2 separate regions of the Homo sapiens genome follow, and region 1 is linked to region 2. The links are contacts of gene promoters, found by promoter capture Hi-C in human tissues and cell types (Jung and others, 2019). All regions are on one chromosome and are shown on one strand. Each heading gives the region's core, a stretch centred on a gene start or on the middle of the fragment in contact. The rest is flanking DNA. Distances are from core to core; before and after follow the strand shown. Region 1 holds the start of CATSPERG (catsper channel auxiliary subunit gamma). Region 2 overlaps SIPA1L3 (signal induced proliferation associated 1 like 3).

The links. The method cuts DNA at HindIII sites, captures the fragments that hold promoters and counts their contacts. A contact is called where the count stands out against the background at its distance.
Region 1: a contact is called between the fragment with the promoter of CATSPERG here and a fragment that was not itself captured in region 2, in 1 of the 25 tissues and cell types used here (dorsolateral prefrontal cortex).

What each region holds. Positions count from the first base shown.
Region 1 is chr19:38,334,537-38,337,323 of GRCh38, reverse strand. It overlaps CATSPERG (catsper channel auxiliary subunit gamma), which reads right to left and starts at 1,494. Exons shown (of 29, transcript NM_021185.5): 1 at 1,449-1,494; 2 at 1-103. The coding sequence starts at 89. RefSeq lists silencers at 707-876, 1,247-1,326 and enhancers at 1,447-1,656, 1,461-1,755. The HindIII fragment of the contact is 10,217 bases long and covers 1-2,787 here.
Region 2 is chr19:38,142,277-38,145,011 of GRCh38, reverse strand. It overlaps SIPA1L3 (signal induced proliferation associated 1 like 3), which reads right to left. Exons shown (of 22, transcript NM_015073.3): 12 at 2,302-2,439. Among named protein-coding and RNA genes, the nearest start is that of SNORD152, 19 kb to the left of the region's middle. RefSeq lists an enhancer at 632-1,481. The HindIII fragment of the contact is 6,489 bases long and covers 1-2,735 here.

The DNA.
Region 1 (2,787 bases), core at 245-2,744, 190 kb before region 2:
AGGAGCACTGCCAGCAGGGCCCACAGCACCTGCACGACTCGGACTCTGGGCCACGGAGGACCGGCAGGGAACATGGCTGGGCCGCACATAACGTGGCTAGAACCTGGAGAACGCAGGAGTCAACACCCACGCGCCGGACAGCTCTCTGGAGCCCACTTTTAAGATTCCACCTCGCTTCTGCGCCTCTCACAGCACTTGCTCCTGGCCACGCCCCGGCTCTTGCTCCTGGCCCCGCCCCTGCACTTGCTCTTGGTCCCGCCCCTGCTCTTGCTCCTGGCCCTGCCCCCGCACGGACTTTTAGCCCCGCCTCTGCTCTTGTTCCTGGCTCCGCCTCTGCACTTGCTCCTGGTCCCGCCCCTGCTCTTGCTCCTGGCCCTGCCCCCGACCCTCGTGGGTATCGCACCTCTGCTATTGCTCCGGGCCCCAGCCCTACTAATGTTTCTGGCCACACCCCTGCTCCTCCGCCTCGTTCCGCCCCGCCGCCTCCACGTCTCTTCCTTTAACTTTATCCTCACCTTGCTCCTTATTCCGCCCCCTCCCTGTATTCCACTCTTGCTCTTCACCTGGTCTTGGTTTCTATTTCTCGCTTTGACAGTCCCCCTCTTAAGTTCCCCCGTACTGCTTCTGCCTGCGATCGCACCCGTGTACTTCCACCCGGCTGTGCCCCAACCTCTTGCCCCACCCTCGCACTTCTCTTGGTATCGCCGCTTTCTCCTCGCTCGGGGTCTGCCCAGGGGCTGGGTACTGTACCTGGTCTCGCCCGTCTCCGGGCCCCGCCCCTGCTCTTGCTCCCGGCCCCGCCCCTGCTCTTGCTCCCGGCCGGGCCCCCGTTTCTCGCCCGGGGCTTGCTCCTCACTCTGCTTCCGCTCCTGACCGCGCCCCTACTCCTCCACTTGGTCTTTATGGACCCGTTCCTTCCCCGGGTTCTCGGCGATTGGTTCTTCCCGCGCGGGCCCGTCGCCCCGTCCCGCCCTCTGGTAACGCCCCTCCTCCTCGCCCTGCCCCTTCTCGATGAAAACTGTCTCTTCGCCTCGGGATCTTTCCTCGCCCTTCGTTGTTTCCTCGCCCCACACCTTCTCCTTCCACGCCGGCACCAGCTTCTTAGCCGGCACCTTCTTGAGTCTCACCTTCCCCTCGTACCGCGACACCTTCTTGCCCCACTTCTTACTCTTCCTTCCCATGCCATTAACACCTGCCTGCTCTATACCCCGACTCTCCTGCCCCGCCCCGCCCTTCGCCCTTCACGTTCGGCTCCCCCTTTCCCTCCTCTGCCAGCTCCCACGACTCTTCCCCTCTTTCCCTCCTCTCCCAGCTCCCACGACTCTTCCCCTCTTTCCCCTGCCTCTCCCCTTCTCGCCTTCCCCTTCCCCTCCCCTTCCTAGTTCCTCCCCGTCCCCGGCATCCCCCCGCCCCTGGATGGCACAGCTTTTTCCCCGGCCCCGTGGTACCAGTCACTTGGTTAAAACCGGTCAACTGTCACTCGGCCGCACCAGTCCCGCCCCTCTTGCCCGGTCTCAAAATGGCCGCCCACACTTCCACAGCCGACTTCCGCCTTTGCAGAGGCACGCCCTCCTCTCACGCGGTCTCCAAGGTGACGCGCAACCCCTAAGGCACCGAGGGCTGGAGGCTGTCTCAGCACTGAGGGCGCGGGGCCTGGTCGGCAGAGGGTGCTGGAGACTACGTTTGTGCCAGGAAGGCCTTCAAGGAGTTTCTATTGGTTGTTCTGGCAGCAAGCACGGTCCCTACTTGTGCTTCCTACCCAAATATATATATATATATATTTTTTTGAGACGGAGTTTCGCTCTTTCTCCCAGGCTGGAGTGTGAAGTGGCGCGATTTCGGCTCACTGAAACCTCCGCGCCCCTGCCCCGGATTCAAGCGATTCTCCTGCCTCAGCCTCCCGAGTAGCTGGGATTATAGGCTCCCGCCACCACGCCTGGCTAATTTATTTTTTGTATTTTTAGTAGAAACGGGGTTTCATCATGTTGGCCAGGCTGGTCTCGACTCCTGACCTCAGGCGAACCACCCGCCTCGGCCTCCCAAAGTGCTGGGATTACAGGCGTGAGCCACTGCGCCCGGCCCTACCCCAAAATTCTACTCCTTAAAAAAGTGTGGTTTCCTGGAGACCTTGTGAGAATGAATAGGCTGCTTAGCACCGTCCTCTACAAAACAGGACAAGGACAGCCATCCTATACTGTTGTGGGAAGTGTGCCCGGCTCAAGTAAAATATTCATTAAGTTAATTTTCATTTGCATTCTGATGCCTTACAGGTAAGGATTCAGGCCATGACTTTTTGATGAACTCCAGACCAGACGTTTAACCCAGTGGTTTTCAAATTTGAGCATGCATTAGACTCACCTAAAAGGCTGGGTAAGCCAGGTTGGTGGGTACCACACCCTGAGTTTTTGTTTTTGTTTTAAAGATGGAGTCTCTGGCTGGGCATAGTGGCTCATGCCTATAATCCCAGCACTTTGGAAAGCTGAGGCAGGCGGATCACTTGAGGTCTGAAGTTGGATACCAGCCTGGCCAACATGATAAAACCTTGTCTCTACCAAAAAATACAACAATTAGCCGGGCATGGCGGCGGGCACCTGTAATCCCAGCTACTCGGGAGGCTGAGGCAGGAGTTGCTTGAACCCAGGAGGCGGAGGTTGCAGTGAGCCGAGATCCCTCCACTGCACTCCAGCCTGGGCGACAGAATGAGACCCTGTCTCAAAAAAAAAAAAAAAAATTAAGCCAGATGTGGTGCTGCACACCTGTAATCCCAGTACTTTGGGAGGCTGAGGT
Region 2 (2,735 bases), core at 98-2,597:
ACACCCGATTCCTCTCTGATTCTCCTGTGTTTCACAGCATCCTGCTTGTTCATATCTGTGGCCTTTACTCTGTTTGGAATGACTTTTTCTCTCCTCTCTGTCGCAGACTCCTATTAGTCCCTCAAACTTCTGTTCAGATGTCACCTCCTCCAGGCAGCCAGTCTAGACCTCCAGTGCTGGGCTGTGTTCCCTCTTCCTCTATTAGAGTGCTCATCAGAGTGCACATGGTTTTTACGATCCTCTCCATCACAGTCAGCAAGGGCTGACTACAGAACCCCCTCGTAATTGAGTATCTCAAATACTCCTCCTGGCACGCCAGAAAGCTCTTGAGACCCTTTGCTGAATGAAAGCTGAATGGTGGCTACTAGAAGAAGAAACAGTGGGCGTGTTTCTCCAATTGAACAAGAGGCTTAGAATCTAACAATGGATGACTGTGGTGACTCTCAGAGAATGGTCCCTGGTGCAGCACCCCGAACCTACCAGGTCAGAAATTTGGGGCTCAGGCCCAATAATCTGTATTTTAACAAGTCCTCCTCTGGGTGATTCCAATGCCTGCTAAAGATTGAGAACCACTGGTTTGGTGGCCTGATCCCTGGTCTTAAGGCAGGTGGTTTCATTTTAACAAACCCACTCACTCCATCCTTTCATCCAATATATACCAAAGATCAGCCATGTGTCGGACTGTGTACTATGTGATGGGAGGTCTTGAAGAGCACGCTTACCCTCTCTGTCTCTCTCTCGCTCTCTTACAGGTGCACATACATGCACGTGCGCAAGCACACACACTCTTAGCTGGCTAATAAGGATGAAGAGTGCTCAAGGCCACAGTCAGGAAATACACAGGAATTGGGGGGCAGTGCCTTGCCTCAAGAGGGAGCTCCAGAGAAGGGTTCTGGAGAGGGGCACAGAAGCTTGAGTTGGTAGGATGGGGGGAGTGTGGGCGAGGAGTGTGAAGCATATTCAGGCCAAGGAAGGAACACCATCAAGGCTCTGAAATACAGACAGTCCCCCTAGGAAGCTGGGAGTGGCCAGTGTGGCTAAAGTGTGGCACTGCACGAGACTCGCAGGGGCCCTGGTGGCCACAGGGAGGGGCCAAAGCTGTGTCCTGAGGGCTCTGGGAGTGGTGGGAGGGTTTGGAGCAGGGGACAGGCATGTTCAGGTATAGAAAGATCTGGCCAGGTGCACGGGCTCACACTTGTAATCCCAGCACTTTGGGAAGCTGAGGCAGGCGGATCGCTTGAGGCCAGGAGTTTGAGACCAGTCTGGCCAGCATGGTGAAAATCCGTCTCTACTAAAAATACAAAAATTAGCTGGGCGTGGTGGCGAGAGCCTGTAGTCCCAGCTACTTGGGAGGCTGAGGCAGGAGAATCACTTGAACCCGGGAGGTGGAGGTTGCAGTGAGCTGAGATTGCGCCACTGCACTCCAGTCTGGCGACAGAGTGGTCTCAAAAAAAAAAAAAAAAAAAAAAGACACAGAAAGATCCCTCTGGCTGTTGAGTGTTGAGTGGAGGGTAGACCAGGGGAGGTGAGATGAAGGCTGGAAGCCCACTGTGGTGGCCTGGGCAAGAGAACAGGGAAAGGAGGAGAGGGTGGGTGACAGAGATGCTCAGGAGGAGGACCACTGCAAGGAGGAGGAGGAAGGGGACATTCACAGGATGAGGGCCACAGCTCAGGCCCAAGGACTAGGATTGATGTGGCTGCCCCTGAGACAGGGACCTGGGGGCAGAGGAAGAACAGAGGGCACGAGGGCTGAAGGCAGCTGGGGAATAAGCTCAGCCGGAGCCAGAGCCTGAAGGGCCTTGAATGCCAAGTTTATCCTGAGGGCACTGGGGAGCCATGGAGGGTTTGGGGAGATCTCTCAGGCTGGTGGGGAGCCATGGAGGGTTTGGGGAGATCTCTCAGGCTGCCAGGTTGCAGATGGACGCAAGTGGGCAGAACTGAATCCTGAAAGATCTCGAAAACTGGGTAATGCTGGCAGCCTGGTCCTAGGGGCTTAGGGCTGGAGAGAGTTAGATGCATGGCCGTGCTGGATAGTGGATGCTCTTGCTTGACAGGTGTCAAGAGAACAGCAATCAAAATTCTGCTGCAAGGAAAGCCAACGATGGGTCCTGCCCAGCCCGGCCCAGTTTTGCTCCAAAACTTGAGACATAACCACCCCATGGGGCTCCTCTGAGGACCTTCAGGGGTCCAGAAACACCATAAAATGGCAACTAGAATTGTGGGGGTGTGCATTTGCTGGGGAAGAAGGAGGCACAGCTTTCATCAGATCCCTTAACATGAAAAGAATTGAGGGAGGCTGACCTTTCTGGGGATGGCTTGTATCTCACGTAGGTGGCCGAACCGGGGGTGGAGAAGCTCCCAGAAGGCTGTCGGTAGGGAGGGACTCTGTCGGCCCCTGCTGGTGATACTGTGTAAGGGGTTTCTGGGAAGCTGACAGGCCTAGAAGGAGACAGGGGAGGAAGGAGGCAGAGGGTGAGTAGGAGGGTACCCCTGCCCTGGGAGGATGGACGGACAGACAGATGGATGGACAGACGGACAGACAGACAGACCAACCGAACTTTCCCCCGCCCAGCCACATCCCTTCTGCTATTCACTGCTCAGGATGAAGGGGAGGATGCTGAGCACAGGGCGAGAGAAGCTGGGATGCTCCTGGGCCCCCTCTTCCCGGATCCACTGCGGCTGCCCGCAACTCACAGCTTCTGCAGGCTGCTCAAGACCATTCTCGCCTCTGCCCC